2 separate regions of the Homo sapiens genome follow, and region 1 is linked to region 2. The links are contacts of gene promoters, found by promoter capture Hi-C in human tissues and cell types (Jung and others, 2019). All regions are on one chromosome and are shown on one strand. The core of a region is centred on a gene start or on the middle of the fragment in contact, and the rest is flanking DNA. Distances in the headings are between cores, read along the strand shown.

Evidence for each region. Contacts are between HindIII fragments. The study calls those that stand out against the background at their distance.
Region 1: a contact is called between a fragment that was not itself captured here and the fragment with the promoter of PNMA2 in region 2, in 3 of the 25 tissues and cell types used here (aorta, hippocampus and small bowel).

Annotation. Positions count from the first base shown.
Region 1 is chr8:26,545,143-26,549,974 of GRCh38, reverse strand. All of the region lies in intron 1 of DPYSL2 (dihydropyrimidinase like 2), which reads right to left. It also overlaps the pseudogene PSME2P5. Among named protein-coding and RNA genes, the nearest start is that of DPYSL2, 34 kb to the right of the region's middle. The HindIII fragment of the contact is 4,356 bases long and covers 619-4,832 here.
Region 2 is chr8:26,512,131-26,517,364 of GRCh38, reverse strand. PNMA2 (PNMA family member 2) reads left to right here and starts at 3,493. Exons shown (of 3, transcript NM_007257.6): 1 at 3,493-3,549. It overlaps DPYSL2 (dihydropyrimidinase like 2), which reads right to left and starts at 3,334. Exons shown (of 14, transcript NM_001197293.3): 1 at 2,686-3,334. The coding sequence starts at 3,039. RefSeq lists enhancers at 4,379-5,234, 5,038-5,234. The HindIII fragment of the contact is 13,621 bases long and covers 1-5,234 here.

The DNA of each region.
Region 1 (4,832 bases), core at 1,547-4,046, 33 kb before region 2:
CCTTTCTTTAAGTAGATCCAACTCTCTTTTTATGTCATTTTCCTTCTCTCTGAAGATTTTTTTTTTAACATTTCTTGCAATGTCACCAGTGACAAATTCTCTCAACATTTATTTGTCTGAGAAAGTCTTTATTTATCATTCAGTTTTAAAGGACAATCTTGCTGGATACAAAATTCTACATTGGTGTTTTTGTTCTTTCAGCACGAAATCTTTCACTTCACTCTCTTCTTGCTTGTATGGGTCTCAAGAGAAATCCGGTATAACACTATCCTTGCTCCTCTATATATAAAGTGCTTTTTACTTCTGACTTCTTTCAAGGTTTTCTTTCTGTCTTTGATTTTCTGCAGCTTGAATGTGATATGCCCAGGGATAGATTTTTGTAGTACTGATCCTGCTTGGTGTTCTCTGAGCTTCCTGTACCTGTGGTATGCTATCATTAATTTTGAGAAATTCGCAGTCATTATGGCTTCCAGTATGTCCCCTGTCCCTTTCTGTCTTTCTGCTCCCTCTGATATCACCTTTATACATATATTAAATCTTTGGTAATTTTCTCGTATTTCTTGGATATTCTGTTCCGTCATTTTCATTGTTTTCTCTCTCTTCATTTCCATTTTGGAAGTTTCTACTGACATTTCTTCAAGCTCGCTGATTCTTTCTTTGGCTGGGTCCTGCCTCTTGATCAATCAAATAAAAGGCATTCTTCATTTCTAGTATAGTGTTTTCTTTATTTCTAGCATATCCTTTTGATTATTATTATTATTATTATTATTATTAACTTAATTTTTTTGAGACAGTCTTCCCTCTGTCACCTGGGCTGGAGTGCAGTGGCATGATCTCAGCTCACTGCAGCCTCCGCCTCCTGGGTTCAAGTGATTCTCTTGCCTCAGCCTCCCGAGTAACTGGGATTACAGGCACCTGCCACCATCCCTAGCTAATTTTTGTATTTTTAGTAGGGACGGGGCTTCCCCATGTTGGTCAGGCTGGTCTCAAACTCCTGATCTCAAATGATCTGCCCGCCTCAGCTTCCCAAAGTGCTGGGATTATAGGCGTGAGCCACTGCGCCCGGCCTATTTTTTATTTGGTTTGGTTTTGTTTTTGAGATGAGGTCTCACTCTGTCACCCAGGCTGGAATGCAGTGGCGCAATCACAGCTCACTGCAGCCTTGACCACCAGGCTCAAGTGATTCTCCTGCCTCAGCCTCCCAAGTAGCTGGGACCACAGGCATGCACTACCATGTCTGGTGACTTTTTTTTTTTAAGAGAGGAGGTCTCACTATAGTGCTTAGGCTGGTCTTGGATTCCTGAGTTCAAACAATGTTCCTGCCTCAGACTCCCAAAGTGCTGGGATTACAGACATAAGCCACCACACATGGCCTGAATATTATTATTATTATTATTACTATTATTATTACTGTTAGGAGTTTAGGAGTGGAGGTTTAATAGGTAAAAAAATAGGAAAACAGCTCTCTGTCTACTGTGAGAGAGGGGACTTCTGAGAGGAAAAGGCCTTGATTATTGTCTTTTAATCCACACAAAGTATAAGTCATTTATTTCTCTTCTAGCCCTGGGCTCAGTATATAGACGGCTTCTCTTCACCCTTTGGGTTAACAATTTTCTCCAGGTTGCTTCTGAAATTATGATAAAGCTCAGCATAGAAAGCCCTCAGTTCAAGCACGGTGTCCCCGATCTCCCCATAGGTGCCTCATCTTGCCTGTGCACCAAGGCCTGGTAATAATCCATTACATGAATTTCCTTGGAGGCCTTGGCCACAGCATCTCCATGTTCTGAGAAGTACTTGGACGTGGTTGTCTGGAACCACTTTGGTCTTGACTGCCTTTATCCTCTCCAGCACCTTCTCCCGGAGTGATATCCCAAAATAATGTCCATCCTCAATCTTGGGGATCAGATGCTGGATCCATGTGATCACCAGAATGCATTTCTCTTTGAGAGTCCAGACTTCTGTCTTATCCAGGGGAACAGGAAAAGGACCTTCTCATGCCAGGGAGACTTCTTTCTCCTCCTGCTTATCTGTTTCCAACTCATCATCCTTGGATAGAGGGTCTGGGATGGGGATTTCAGTGGCACTCAGAGGGAGGTCAGATCAGCCACATTGAAGGACTCCTTTTGCAAGAGCTGATTCAGATATATGACTTTCTGTGGCAAGAATCTGTAGGGGAATTCCTCAGCCTCCTGGAAAAGATTTTGCCTGAAGACCTCCGCCTGCTTGCAGGCCTTCCCGCTCAGATGCACTCCACAAGGCTGGGCCATGCTGCTCCAGGTGCTACATCTCTGGTCTCCTGGCTAGTCCTGATTCTTTATTAAAGTCCCCATCTCTCTGCTTATATTATGCATCTGTTCTTGCATGTTTTTCACTTTTGTCCATTAGAGGCCTTAACACGTTAAATAGTTATTTTAAATTCCTGTCAGCAATCCAAAATCTCTACAATATCTGGGTCTGGTTATGATGCTTGTTCTGTCTCCTCAAATTGTTTTTTGTCTTTCAATTTGCCGTGTAATTTTTTGTTGAAGGGTGGATACAATGTACTGAGTAAAAGGAATCTGCATCTTGCTGCTGCAGTGGGCTTCTGCTCCAGTAAGCAATTTTTTTTTTTTCAATCAGGGTCTCTCTCTGTCAACCAGGCTGGAGTGCAGTGGCACAATCTTGGCTCACTGCAACCTCCACCTCCTGGGTTCAAGCAGTTTTCTTGCCTCAGCCACCCGAGTAGCTGGGATTACAGGTGTGTGCCACCACACCCGGCTAATTTTTGCATTTTTAGTAGAGACAGGATTTCGCCACATTGCCCAGGCTGGCCTCCAACTCCTTGGCTCAAGCAATCCACCCACTTCGACCTCCCAAAGTGCTGGCATTACAGGCATGAGCCACCGCTCCTGGCCTCTAGTAAGCTTTGATTCTGTGTATGGGCTTGTCTCACCAATTGCAGGTGAAGTGTCTTGCCTTGTGACCTCAATCATCTGACTGATAAAGAGTTGTTGATTTTCAGTTTCTGCAGGATTTTTCTTTTCTTTTTTTTTTTTTTTTTTTTTTTTTTTTTTGAGACTGAGTCTCCCTCAGTCGCCCAGGCTGGGAGTGCAGTGGCGCGATCTCGGCTCACTGCAAGCTCCGCCTCTCGGGTTCACGCCATTCGCCTGCCTCAGCCTCCTGAGTAGCTGGGACTACAGGTGCCCGCCACCACGCCCGGCTAATTTTTTTTGAATTTTTAGTAGAGACGAGGTTTCACCGTGTGAGCCAGGATGGTCTCGATTTACTGACCTCGTGATCCACCCGTCTCGGCCTCCCAAAGTGCTGGGATTACAGGCGTGAGCCACCACGCCCGGCCTCTGCAGGATTTTTCTTGTTGTGAGAATAAAAGTCTAGCATCTCAGATAAGAAACTAGAAGCTTTCTCACTGAATCCCAATTATGTAACATTTATGTTACATACAATTATGTGTATATACACACAATAAATATAAAGGTGTCTAATTTATTTTTAAAAGACTCTAGAAAGATATACACCAAAATGCTAATATTTTTGATATTTGTTGAGCAGATGGTGTAATCATCTATGTAGAAGGTCTAAAACAATCAACAAAAAAACTGGAACTGATAAGCAATTGTAGCAAAGTTGCAAGATACAAGGTTAATATACAAAAGTCCATTGCTTTCCTGTATAGCAACAATGAATAAGTGGGATTTATAATTAAAAACACAATACAATTTACATGAGCACCCACGAAATGAAATCTTTAGGTATAAGTCTAACAAACACATCCAAGATCTATGTAAGGAAACCTACAATTTTTTTGATGAACAAAATCAAAGAAGAGCTAAATAAATGAAGAAATATTCCCAAGTTCATGGATTGGAAGACAATATTGTCAAGATGTCAGTTCTTCCCAACTGGATCTATACATTCGACACAATCAAAATCCCAATCAAAATGCCAGCAAATTGTTTGTGGATATCAACAAATGAAATCTAAAGTTTATATGAAAAGCCAAAAGACCCAGAATAGGCAACGTGAAATTGAAGGAGTAGAACAAGTCAGATACTTCCTGACTTCAAGATTTACTATAAAGCTATGGTTGTCAAGACAAACAGATCAAGGGAAGAAAACAGAGAGCCCAGAAAGAAACACACATAAATATAGTCGAATTATCTTTGATAAAGGAGCAGGGAAATTCAATGCTGAGATTATTTTTTTTTTTTGAGATGGAGTCTCACTCTGTTGCTCAGGCTGGAGTGCAGTGGCATAATCTCAGCTCACTGCAACCTCTGCCTCCCGGGTTCAAGTGATTCTCCTGCCTCAGCCTCCCAAGTAGCTGGGATCACAGGTGCATGCCACCATGCCCAGCTAATTTTTTGTATTTTTAGTAGAGATGGGGTTTCACCATGTTGGCCAGGATGATCTTGAACTCCAGACCACGTTAGCCAGGCTAGTTTGGAGGTCCTGACCTCAAGTGATCTGCCCACCTGCTTCCCAAAGTGCCGAGATTACAGGCGTGAGCCACTGCGCCTCGCTAAGACACTTTTTAAATTCCCTTTTGATACCTTCTTTGAGCCAATGGTTGTTCTGGAGTGTGTTTTGTTTCCACATATTTGTGAATTTTCCTGTTTTCTTGCTGTTATAGGTTAGTAGTTACATTTCATTGTGGTTGAAAAAGGTACTTAGAATTATTTTGAACGTCTTAAATTTGTTAAGACTCATTTTGTGGCCTAATATGTGATCTATCCCAGAGAATGTTTTGTGTGTGCCTGAGAAAAATGTGCATACTTCTGCTGTTGGATAAGAAGTTCTGCATATGGTGGTTAGGTCCATCTTTTCCATAGTGT
Region 2 (5,234 bases), core at 2,244-4,743:
CCACACCCATCGCTTTCTGGTGCTGTCTGGCTCATACTCTGAATATAATTTCATTTAGTTCCTGCAAATGCACATGTCCAACATCTCTCATCTTCCATGAGCCATGTGGCATGTGGGTCAAGGAAGCCTATTCTCTCCCTTCCCAAAGCCTTGTTAGGGGAACAGCAGGCCTCTTAGTGCAACAGATGAGCAAAGCCACATCTGACCATACATTAGTAACACATAAATAAAGCTGCAAGAGAGGAGGGATGGTGTGAGTCAGGGTCCCAGGATCCACCCATTCTCAATCTCCCCCACCTTTCTCTGCGTCAGGGCTTCCAATTAGAATGCACAGAGATGCTGGCACTCACCCAACTCATTCGTTGAAAACCAACTAATGACAAGTCAACTCAGTCAAAATGGTGGGCCAGTTGAGCTTTTCGGAAGTCACATTGTTATAAATATAAACACATGTATAGCCACAGCCTTTCCCCTTTTCTAAAGACATGAAATATTGAAACATTGCAAGTACTGATCCAGGTAAATGCTCTTAGTCGTGAATGACAAAATCTCATTGAGTAGGCCTTATATGATAAGGCAAGATTAAACATGAAAATTCAGGGGAAGGTGCTGCAGAAAGGCCAAGCTAGAATCGCCCTCTGTTACTAATAACTGGGCAACTGAAATCAATGTGAATTGCAATCTAAAACTCCCTTGCAGTTTGTTTGAGTATTTTCTCTTCAAATCTCCCCCTCTGCGTGCCTTAGTTTTACAATTTAGAATTTCATATATCTAAGCTTCTAAATGGCCAAGAAAAAAGAAGTGTTATTCAACCCGATAAAACTATGCCTTTCAAACTTGAGTTCTAATTCATGATAGGGGTGGGCCACTTTCAACCCCTATCCTCTGATCTGCCACTTTTTACATGATTTCTTCTTTATTCTCCAGTTGTTTTTCTGCTTTCTCTAGGACATCACAATCACCAGCACAACTCGCCATGCATGAGGCTACTCACTCAACCAAGATGCTATATGATTTTGGCCCTCACTCAATGTACTCACACAGGGAAGTGTTTCACACACACTCACTCAGCTTTCAGTATAAGTTACATTATTAGAAACTTTTACTTCAATTGTCTGATCACTTGGAACAAAGCAAGTTTTTTGGATTTAGTTTCTTCTGGTTGACTCATAGTGAAATATGGATATGAGACACTCCCTTATATGAATAAATTAGAGGGCAGGGCTGGGGTTGGATATAAATTATTAGTTGTGTCACCTTTTACAAATGACAGCAAATGCCTTGTTTTTCCTAGACTTGACCCTACAAAAGTCAAAAGCTGCAAAACTCTATGTCACATCAGCAAACAGTCAAATCATGCCCCAACCATCATCACCAATTCTGAATTGTTCTCAAAGGCTGTCACTGTAAGTACACAAATGTAAATGCTTGTGGAATCCCTCGCTGAATATGTATAGACCACTCCCAACTACTCTGGAAGCCCTCTGAGAAGAAGAAACCTCTTGCACTTTCTATAACTAACCTTCCCTCTGCCCTACAAGGCAAGGCGCACAATAGGTATTCAATCAACAATCATTCATTGATTGACTTATTATTTTTACCAGCAGGCATGGGAGAGAAACGGAAAACGTGTTAAAACATTTTGCATTGTAAATTATCAGTTAAGAAATTAAGGCTGTGGAAAAGAATTACACTAGTGTAAGGATCACTCAGATAAAGAAAGAATTGTGGTGTGAGATTATTACTGCGCTGAAAATGCTCACTGTTCATATTTGTCAGAAAGTGACAAACATTTTCTAAAATCAAGCGTGACCAAATTGGCCTTTGTTTCCCCCATTAACACAATAAAAGGGGGTTTAGTCTTCTTCGACAGTCTATTTCGAGTGCGAGGGGTTTTCCCCCTTTTCTTGTCTTTTTGACCCTTTGAACATAATCCACTTAGTTCCCCGCTTCCTAAAGCGCCTCCCACATAGCGGTTTGGGGAGCGCTCTGTGAAGCCCCGGCTGAGACACTTATTGGAACTTTGTTCCCCACATAGGCTATTTAGGAGCGTCTCGGTTTCCTCGGGTGACTCCACAGCCTTCCTGGCTCTTCTCACGCTGCGAGCAGGAGTCAAGGGCGGTGCGGTGCTCGGAGGGGGTCCGGGGGGCGCTGACCATGGTCCTGGCCTCGGAGCTCGGGACGTGAGCGCAGAAGGCGCGGGCGGAGGCTGTAGGGAGCGGCCGTCCGAACCCCCGCCCCTCCCGACCACCGGGGAGCCGCGGGCCTTCACGCAAAGCCTCCACCGCACGCTCTGAGCCGCTCAAAAAAAGGGTGGGGCACCCAGCCGCAGCTGCAATCGGAAGCCGCCCGGGAGGGTTTCAGAAGAATGGAACCGCGGCCAACCCCCTCCCAGACGACCACCGCCCGCCCCAGCAGGGGATCAGCCCATTCCCTATGCCCACGCCCCACCTCTCAAGCTCAAGGAGACGCGGGCAGCCTTTGTGGGCGCACGGCCGCCCACCGCCCAGCCCGAGCCTCGCCGCACCCTGCGCGGAGAAGGGGCGGGTAGGGCGGGGTGCGCGTGCAGATGCGGGAGGCGAGGTCCAGGGCGGGGCATGAAGGCGGGCGCGCCGGGCTCAGGGGCGAGGGAGGGGCGATCCCCGCGCCCCGTCCTCCGTCTCCACCCCCAACCCCCACACCGACCTGGTCGTTGATGTTCTGCAGGGCTTCTTTGCCCGAGGCCCTCCGGATCTCCACCTTCCGGCCCGATTCAACAGATGGCTCTCCGCCGGCGCGCCGGCCCTGCCGCGAGTACGGCGGCTGCGGGTCCGGGCCCAAGTGGGCGACGTCCCGCTGCTGAGCCACCACCTGCCCCGAGCCCCGGCCCACCGACAGCGAGTCGAAGTCGATGGTCTTGTTCTCCGAGGACCCTTCCACCGGGCAGAACATGCCACAGAATTTCTGCCGGGGCTTGGGGCTGCCGGAGCCCAGGTTTTTAAAAAAAGCAGGGACCTCTTCGTCCTCTGCCGCCTTCCCGGATTGCTTTCTCTCGGCCATGGCTCGGGGGCTCGGGTAGGGTCCTCGCCGTCCGTCCGTCCGTCTGCCAGTCCCTAAGTCTCCCTCGCTGTGTGCACAAGCCCCCTAGCTGCTGCCGCGGCTGCCGTTCGCCGCCCACCGCAAGGTGCACAGAAAGGAAGGAGGGCTGGCGAGCCGGCGACCCACCCTCCCGGTCCCTCCCCCTGACCCCGCTTCTCCCCTCCCTGCCCACGCCCCCCGCGGCTACAGCGCGAGCTCGGGGAAGCGGCAAAGTTGGATCTGGGAGGGCGTCCGCTGCGGCTGCGGGAGCCGAAAGGCTGCCAGTTCCCGGCAGCGCTGGGAGGAGGGAGGCGCGGGCGGGGCGCGGCGCCGGGGAGGGGAGCGGTGCTCAGGGGAGGGCTGGAGGGGAGGGAAGGAGAGAGAGAGGGGAGGGCGGCACCGCCCCTAGCCCCGCGCTCCGGAAGTGAAGCGGCCAGACCACCAGCTAATGGATGCGGAGCGGAGGGCCCGCTGACCGCTCTCCGCGCCTGGGTAAGTATCGGGCAGGGCACGCGGAGTGAGGACCGGAGGACGCAGCCCCCAGCCCCAGTGCCCCTCTCCTCCACCTGCCTGGCCCAGGCGCCTCTGCCCCGCCGCATGGCGGAGGTGGGCCGGGGGCGAGGGCGCACTGTGGATAGGGGTCCCGCCCCGTTACCCTGGGTGTGAGCTGATGGATGGGAAAAGGGGACAAGCCGGGCGCCAGGCTACTCAGGGTGTGGGAAGCGGGATGGCACTGAAGATGAGCAAGGATAGCACAGGCAGGGTGGACAGGAGGGGGGCAGCCAAGACGCTGGACACCCCAGCTTCAGTTTGTCCACTCGCCTTGGCAGGCTGCAGGGAGCAGAGACTGAAACGAGAAGGTTCCCGCTTCGTGCATCCACTTTGGTGTGGTTGGGGTGACGGGGGAGTGGGGGGGGGGCACACAACATGGCGGGAAGAAATTCAGAGGGGCGTAGCAGATGGGAGAGGAATATAGAGAGAGACGCAGGTCTGCGGTCTATGGGGGTGTAGCAAAGAGTGCAGTCGGGAATTCCAGCCCAGGGCCACGACTTAAAGACGGGGTGCAGACCGACTCTATTGCGCAAGGCGCCATGGACCGTGTCTGCGCCACTGCGCCAAGAAGGGCGCAGGAACGTGTCGCGATTTGGTTTATTCTGCTTCCTCCACCAAAAAAAAAAAAAAAAAAAAAAAAAGAGAGAAAAAACAAACTGAAACCCCCTTCCCAAATCTCCAGCTTTCCCCTGCGCCCCAGAGCCCCGCCTGGTTCCCCCGCCCCTGTTGCGCACTGCGCCACAGTCGCAGCGTTTCCCGGGTTACCAGATGCCACGTGTTTGGGGAGTAAGTGCGGGTGCGCATCTGGTGCGGAGTAGGAGGTAGGATGTGGGCTGTGAGTGCCATGAATTGTGTGGGGCCAAGCAGGGGAAAGGTGTGTAGGAACTTGGTGTGTGTGTGCAGTAGCTGAGCCACGGCCACCGGGTTGGTAAGTAACCAGGGGGCAATTAGATTTGTGTGCCTAACACGGTCAATGCTGGTCCTTCATTGCTTATTCCCATCTCCACGTCCTTTCCGCGTATCAGTCCCTGCCTCTGCGCGATGACAGCTCCGCCTCTCTTTCCACAGTGGCAAAATCCTGCAGAAATGGTGCCCCTCCTTTGGTGGCCCGGGAGGGAGTTCTGGGCATGCTCAGTAACCAGGGTGGGTTTGGGCTGAGAGGCCGTTTACCGCAGGGCCACCGCGTAGGGCCGTGTAACCAGGGATCCAGTCCCATTGTCAGCCCAGGATTAAATGCGGTTACCAACCACCCCCACAGTCCAATTGTGAGAGATAGTTTGGTGAATATAGTTACATCTGCTGGACAATCAGTCGCAATTTGAAGATCAGCCCATCTTGATAGGTGGAAAGGCGTCTCCGGATGAGAAACAGACTGGGGAAGAAGAATATAGGAGTGGAGGGGCTGAGAGAACCGGAGGGGGCATTTTGGACTTAGCGGCAGATGTGCTTTGCATTTGAATAAAGCATTTGAAAAAAGCGCTTCCAACTGAATTACATCATTTCCTACTCACAGCCCCACTGTGAGATGCGTGCCTTATCAGCACTGCTTTCCAGGTTAGGAAACAGATTTAGAGAGCTTGGGGCGCATAGCCAAGGTTGGGTATTTAGTTAAATGATCCAGCAAT